2 separate regions of the Homo sapiens genome follow, and region 2 is linked to region 1. The links are contacts of gene promoters, found by promoter capture Hi-C in human tissues and cell types (Jung and others, 2019). All regions are on one chromosome and are shown on one strand. The core of a region is centred on a gene start or on the middle of the fragment in contact, and the rest is flanking DNA. Distances in the headings are between cores, read along the strand shown.

Evidence for each region. The method cuts DNA at HindIII sites, captures the fragments that hold promoters and counts their contacts. A contact is called where the count stands out against the background at its distance.
Region 2: a contact is called between a fragment that was not itself captured here and the fragment with the promoter of OTUD1 in region 1, in 1 of the 25 tissues and cell types used here (dorsolateral prefrontal cortex).

The regions. Positions count from the first base shown.
Region 1 is chr10:23,437,119-23,440,879 of GRCh38, forward strand. It overlaps OTUD1 (OTU deubiquitinase 1), which reads left to right and starts at 1,957. Exons shown (of 1, transcript NM_001145373.3): 1 at 1,957-3,761. The coding sequence starts at 2,340. RefSeq lists silencers at 1,686-2,275, 2,326-2,665, 2,806-3,175. The HindIII fragment of the contact is 8,203 bases long and covers 1,165-3,761 here.
Region 2 is chr10:24,439,096-24,443,069 of GRCh38, forward strand. All of the region lies in intron 5 of KIAA1217, which reads left to right. It overlaps LOC124902395 (a long non-coding RNA gene), which reads right to left and starts at 371. Exons shown (of 2, transcript XR_007062090.1): 1 at 295-371. RefSeq lists an enhancer at 1,699-1,748. The HindIII fragment of the contact is 3,642 bases long and covers 1-3,600 here.

The sequences.
Region 1 (3,761 bases), core at 707-3,206:
ATGAAAGAGTTAAGCGTGAAGTGCTTCATGCACAGAGCAACAGATGCTCAACAAATCAGTGATGAAATCCAAGGATGGTAATTTCCTTTTTCTAATTAGCCATGAGAGCTTCAAGCTCCCAATGGGGTAGTTACCAGAATTTGAAAAGTTAGACAGTCATTTACCTTCTTCTGAGTTAATTTACATAAGCGGCTGGAGTGACCTGAGCTGGGACCCTGCCAGTCATACTGCCCAAAGATAATTAAAAGCCCTGGCTAGGGTCAAGGGACCTGGATAGTAATCTTGGCTTCACCACTGTCTGACAAACCTTGGAAACTCGCTTTCCATCTACTCATTCACTTAGTAAATATTAATTAGGTCCAATTATGTGCCAAGCACGGTGTTAGGGGATGGAAATATAAGAGCAAGACCCAAGTCTCTCAATTCCTGGAATTCACATTCCACCGGAAAGGTGGGGACCGGAGTACAGCCTACATCACCTACAGGTTCAGTCTCCCTATCTCTAAAATGTTAGGACAACCTCTGGGTTCAATTCGAATGTTTAGGCCCTGTTAATTTAGCATTTGATCACAGCTCAGAATATAGCAAAAGTCTCCCACTACCTCTGGCTTTCCCTTACAAAGGCGGGTATTACAAAAAGACTCGGTAGAAGTATTTTCTATAGTCTATCTTGCCCCGGAATGCAGGTCACGACTTTCTCCACCGCTTTTGACCTCTGGCTAGCATTCACACCTATTCTCAAAGGGCCCTAAGTGATACTGCATTTGGTATTCTGAGAAAGCTTGTTTATAAAAGCCTAAAAGGCTTCCTTGCTTTCCCCCAAGCCAGATATTTGCCAAATGGCATAGGTCAGAGGTGCAAAGTTGGTTTTGTCTTAGCAAGGCAAGAGAATCCACTAGCGGACTCACCCTTACCGGTGAGTCCAAGGAAATGCATAGAAAAGACACAGTGGTAAAACTAGCTGGGCACCTGTAATCCCTGCCCAAGGCAAGGCTGAGGAAGGGGGATCACTTGGGCCCTGGAGGTCGAGGTCGCAGTGGGACATGATGGCGCCACTGCACTCAGCCTGGAAGGCAGAGCAAGACCTTGCCTCAAAAAGAAAAAGAAAAAAAAAAAAAGGAAAAGACGCGGCGGTTCCACGAGTGGTGGCTAGGACCCATAATCCCAACACTTTAGGAGGTCGAGGCGGGAAACAGCTTGAGGCCAGTAGTTCGACACCAGACTGGGCAACTGTGGTGAGACCCTCGCCTTAAAAAAAAAGAAAGAAAGAAAGAAAGAAAATTAGCCGGGTGCGGTGGTGCACACCTGTGGTTTCCAGTTACTCTGGAGGTTGAGGCGGGAGGATCGCTTGAGCCCGGGAAGTCAAGGCTGCAGTGAGCTATGGACTGCGCCACTACACTCTAGCTTCGGAGACAGGTAAGACCCCCATCTCTAAAAAGATAAAAGAAAAGAGGCAGTAGTGAATGCAAGCAGGGATGGTAGCCCATGACCAGCAGAGGCCAAACAGACTTTAAGGCAGCATTCCGTTCTCCACACCCATGCCGGAAGCTTTCCTGCCACGCAAGCTTTCCGAGCATGCTAACTCGCCCCAAGCAGCTCCCATCCCGCAGCATCCACTGCAGCCGCTGAGGAGAGTGGCGCAGCGCAGAAACCAGTGCCCAGTGCCCAGGTGGGGGAAGCGGTCCGTGGGAGTCACGTGGGCGGGAGGCCCAGCCAGGATCCCAGGACTGCTCAGGCCTCCGCGCCCCCGGCCTCGCCCCGCCCGCGCGCGCTCGCGCGCCGAGGGCCACGCCCGTGACGTCGGCGGAGCGCGGTAGGGGGCGGGGCGCGGGCCGGAGTGGGCGGGGCGAGCAGGCGCGACTGAATCGGGCGCCGCAAAGAGCCGCGCATTCCAGTGAGTCCACGTGACGCGGCCGCGAGGCCTGAGGTAAACAACCGCGGCCCCGCCTCCCGGGCCTCCGCGCGCACCGCGCTCCTCCTCGCCGGCGGGACGCGCTCCAACGGGGCGGGCGGCTTCCTCCGTGAGTCCCCAGCGGCCGCCGCGGGCCGAAGCAGCTGCAGCGGGCGCGGCGCCCCGGGTCTGCGGGCCGAGCGCACCGGCAGGGGTCGAGCTCGCGTCCCGTCCCCGCCCCCCTGCGCTGTGGCGCAGCAGGAATTTGGCCGGGACCCGGGCGCTATTCGCGGCTGCTGACTCGCGGCGGCCGGCTGCCTTTCGCTCATCTCTATTCTGGGGCCGTTGGGTCACCGCGCTCCGCCGGCCCCCTCCCCCGGGCCCGGAGGGTGTGTCCCCCGCTCCGGGGCTCGCCGCGCCTATAAGGGGCCGAGCGGCGGGCAGGGACATGCAGCTCTACAGCAGCGTCTGCACCCACTACCCCGCCGGGGCCCCGGGTCCCACGGCCGCCGCCCCCGCGCCACCCGCCGCCGCTACCCCCTTCAAGGTCTCGCTGCAGCCCCCGGGAGCCGCCGGCGCCGCGCCCGAGCCCGAGACCGGTGAGTGCCAGCCCGCCGCGGCCGCCGAGCACCGGGAAGCCGCCGCTGTCCCCGCCGCCAAGATGCCCGCCTTCTCCTCCTGCTTCGAGGTGGTGTCCGGGGCCGCCGCGCCCGCCTCCGCCGCCGCCGGCCCGCCCGGCGCGTCCTGCAAGCCGCCGCTGCCGCCGCACTACACGTCCACCGCACAGATCACCGTGCGGGCCCTGGGCGCCGACAGGCTCCTGCTGCACGGGCCCGATCCCGTTCCCGGCGCCGCGGGCTCCGCCGCTGCCCCGCGCGGCCGCTGCCTCCTGCTCGCCCCGGCGCCCGCAGCCCCGGTCCCGCCGCGGCGGGGCTCCTCGGCCTGGCTCCTGGAGGAGCTGCTGCGGCCCGACTGCCCCGAGCCCGCGGGCTTGGACGCGACACGGGAGGGGCCCGATCGGAACTTCCGACTGAGCGAGCACCGCCAGGCCCTGGCCGCCGCCAAGCACCGAGGCCCCGCGGCGACCCCGGGGAGCCCCGATCCCGGCCCCGGTCCGTGGGGCGAAGAGCACTTGGCGGAGAGGGGCCCCAGGGGCTGGGAGAGGGGCGGCGATCGCTGCGACGCGCCCGGTGGGGACGCGGCGCGGAGGCCCGACCCAGAGGCCGAGGCACCCCCCGCCGGGAGCATCGAGGCCGCCCCGAGTAGTGCGGCGGAGCCGGTGATCGTCTCCAGGTCGGATCCCAGAGACGAGAAGCTGGCCCTATACCTGGCCGAGGTGGAGAAGCAGGACAAGTATCTGCGGCAGAGGAATAAGTACCGATTCCACATCATTCCAGACGGCAACTGCCTCTACCGAGCTGTCAGCAAGACGGTGTATGGGGACCAGAGCCTGCACCGGGAGTTGAGGGAGCAGACGGTGCACTACATCGCCGACCATCTCGACCACTTCAGCCCCCTGATTGAGGGCGACGTGGGGGAGTTTATCATCGCTGCTGCCCAAGACGGGGCATGGGCCGGGTACCCGGAGTTGCTGGCCATGGGGCAGATGCTGAATGTGAATATCCATTTAACTACTGGAGGGAGGCTGGAGAGTCCCACGGTGTCTACCATGATTCATTATTTGGGCCCAGAGGATTCCCTGAGGCCTAGTATTTGGCTCAGTTGGCTCAGTAACGGACACTATGATGCTGTATTTGATCACTCCTATCCTAACCCAGAGTACGACAACTGGTGCAAACAAACTCAAGTGCAAAGGAAACGCGACGAAGAACTTGCCAAATCTATGGCCATATCCTTGTCTAAAATGTAT
Region 2 (3,974 bases), core at 530-3,029, 1.0 Mb after region 1:
TCAAAGCACACAGGGATGTTTTGAAGAAAAAAGAAGGAGAAACTGAAAAAGCAGATTTTAAGATCATATTAATGCAGGTCCACTAGAAAGGGATTGAGTTTCTAAAAATAAGGCTACATTCCTCTGTAGCAAAACTGGGAGGTAAAAAGAAGATTAGCTTCTCAGCTGTACACCCCCTACACACACACACACACATTTGGAAGACACTGTGCCATTTTTTCTCATCTTTTCTACAGATTAGCACTTGGCTGGATGCTCAAGTTTAGCTAGAAAAATAAATAAATAAATGATTACCTTTTATTGCCAAAGAAACCCAGGCACTGTTCTGTCTTGGAGCTGCAGTTTTGTTCCTGAGCGAGGCTGTCTCTGCTTCCTGATAGTACATATTAGTTTCCTGTTGCTGCTGTAATAAATTAGGACAAATTCAGTGACTTAAAACAACACAGATTTACTCTCTTAAATTTTAGAGTCTGTAGACTGAAAGTCTCTGGTCTGACATAAGGGGTCACCAGCAGGTATGCATTCTTTTCTGGAGGCCCTAGGGAGAATCTTTTCTTTTTTTTTTTTTTCCCCCAACTTCTAGAGGTCATCAACATTTCTTGGTTTGCTGTCCTCTTCCTCCATCTTCAAACCCAGCAAGATAGCTTCCCTTTGACCCTGCTTCCATGCTCACATCCCTAACCCTCCCATGTCCACTTTTAAGGACACTTTAAGGACATTGAGCCTCCCTGATCCTCCAGAAAAATCTCCCTATTTCAAGGTCAGCTGACTGGCAATCTTGACTCCCCCTTTTCCATGTAACCTGATGTAGTCACAGGTTGAGGGGACTAGGATGCAGACATCTTTCAGGGACCAGCATTCTGCTTTCCATATTGGGTAAGTTTAGAACCATAAAAGAAGCCAGCAGATCTAGCTGAAAGTGCTGGGAGAAGGTCTGTCCTTCTGGACTGGAATATGAATGACGACATTGTGGGATCAGAGCCTACACTTCTGGAGGGAAAGGCCTCTCACGTACTCAACTGCTGTTATTTTTGTGTCAGAAATGATGTGTGACTTGAATTGAAAGCTGTGTCGCTACTTCAGAAATTCTAGGATTTTCAGCCTTATTTTGCCAGTTATACTTTATGTGTAAACCAGAGCCACATGGAGACAGATTGAGTCATGCCAATCGTGAAGCATGGACTAAATATTACAGCACCATTTGCCTTTTATTACTCTGTTATTCTCTTTCTTGGAGACATTCATCAATGTCTTCGCTCCTTGAATATCTTTATTTTTTGCTATGTCTAGCCTTCACCCTGGAGTTCCATGGTGCTGAGAGTTCTGTTCCTATCACATAGAGCCATTTCCACACCGGTGCCCCAGAATCGCCTCTGAGAATCTTGTTTGTGGCTGGAAAGACACCTGTTTTAACCCTCCAGCAGCTCTGGTACCTACGTAAGGACCAGCAGTGAGGACTGAGAGTATCGAATATTGACCGTATGAACAAAGCTGATCAGGATATGCAGAACATGTGCTGTGGGTTTCTGCAGAGTGGTTCTGTTCTTACTTCAAGATGAAACCCTGCTGATCACTTTTTCTGGGTTACCCAGAGCCTACTTTAAGCCCTCATTTTGTGTGTGTGAGAAACTCAATCATTGTCCCCAAATGAAGGGACAGTAAATGTTCACCATCTAACCAGCAGAAAAGCTTTTGTGTTTCAATGCAGATTACTTAGAAATGAGAAATAGAAAGCGGTTTCAAAGCCAGCTAGGTGTGATCATGCCTGCAGTTTGCAACTTGGTTCCTGTTCACAGATTGCAGACGCTAAAAGGCATGGAATTCAGCTGCCCTCACCTTTTGGCTCTGCAGGTTGGAATTCTTTTTCCTTTCTTGATGAATGTGGCTGCATTGCCATTAAAGGGCAGGAAGCTTTGTTGAGCCCTGCCTCTGGAGCCCAGCTGCACAACCCACTGCCCATGGTGGAGAACAGAAACAGAGAACAGAGCAAGCATCAATTGTTGTAGACTAAACCACGCTGCAGCGTGGGGTTAGGGAACTCCGTCCTCCCTTATGTTTGCAATGTGAGCGTGGCCATGAAGGAATTCGATGCTAACTACTCACATGAGTCAGTCACTGCAGTCCTGCCCCTGATGTCATTAGACCTCACTCCCCAGCCTCCAGAGACAGCCTGGCACAGACCTCCCAGCTGCCTGCTTATGACCAATAAACATGCATGTCATGAAAAACATCAGTTGGAATAAGCAGAGGGGCAACAAAAGTCACACCAGAACTCCTCAGGGGCTCCTGAGACTTTCCTTAACCAATGAATGTAATATCTTGCCTTTGAAAGAAAAGAAAATGTAAAACTCTCCATCTAAAACAGTCTTCCCAGAGCGGTTTTATGATTGGAAATGTGTTACTCAGGAAGCGTGCTAGACTAGGCCTCAGAGTGTGCGTGGAATGCATGCTTGGTGGGGAAAACGTGTACTAAATTTTCATCTAGCATCTAGCTGAGCATTTTTGAGGCTAGTCTGTCTAAGGAGACTTGTGGTTCTCGGCTGGAACTCAGCATACCTGGCTCCTGTTTCTCTACCCACCACCCTGATCTAATTTAATTGCGTGGCTTTTGTTTCCTTACATCAGATAGGAGCTTTGATAATTCAGTTCCCAAGGGACTGAGCTCACCATATGGAACAGGCCCTTTTGCAAAATTTATATATGTACTCACAGGGTTTTAAATTCACAAATGTACAACTTGAAGATGGAACCATTCCATTTCATGACTCTCAAAAAGTACACGTTTTTCCATACCAGCAGTTTGTTGAAGGAACTGGACAATTCTGCTTTGAGGGTGACTTGCTAGTCACCAAACCTGGTGGCTTTTTCATAGTGTGGGGGCTTCTCCACCTTCTTGTGTGCTTTAAGACAACTTTCCAAGACTCTCTGCTCTCATCATTTAATACTCTCCCTCTTCTCTGCTTCCTTTAATTTCTCTTGCATGTCTTTGATTTTTACTTGTATATAGACAATTACCAGATTGGCCCTACCTCTTAAATTATTCCCCAATACCCAAGGTAACTGCTGCCTCCCACCCCTCTTCTACTGATCTTTGTATTTGACACCAGTGAATGGTCCCCTTATAAATCATTGGTCTCCATGGCACTTTTGTGTCTAAATACCTTGTCTGCATTCACAGACACCTCAGCTTCCTTCATTCCCTAACTCTTCTTCCTCTTGCCTGTGTTTAAGCAGGCTTCTCTAGTTTGGAGTTTATTTGTTTTGTTTTTTTAAATTTACTCTTTTTTATCTGAACCTTTGCACTTGTGATTTTTATCTTACCACTTGTTTGACTATTACATCAGTGTGGTTGACCCTTGAAGCCATATCCCTAACTCTGCCATCTCTAGAATTCAAGACCCAAATGTTCAGCTTCTAAGTGTCTTCATATGGAGATCATTTCCGTGGTTTCCAATGCATTCTGTTGAAGAAAAAATTCCTAATCTTTTTTCCACTCAAGTCTTTATCCTTCTTGATTACCTTTTGAAGAATGGAGGGGCTATGATAGGGTGTGTGTGTATGTGTGTGCACATGCATGTGTGCCTGTGTGTGTATGCATGCATATTTTGGGGAATGTGGGAGGAGGGATGTAAAACATTGAGTTACCAATGATTCTTCTCTTGCCTGACCTTTATTCTTCCATGCATCCAGCTGGTCACCAGAGTTCATCCACTCCACTTTGCAAGGCCTCTAACAGATGACCCTTCTGCCACTGCCTGTACCAGTATTCTTACAATAGCTAACTTATTTGAGCATTTATTAAGCACTTTTGTGGGATTTTTTTTTTTTTTTTTGAGAGGGAGTCTCACTGTGCCATCCAGGCTGGAGTGCAGTGTTGCAATCTCGGCTCATTGCAACCTCTGCCTCCCAGGTTCAAGCGATTCTCCCACCTCAGCCTACTGAGTAGCTGGGATTACAGGCATGCACCACTATAC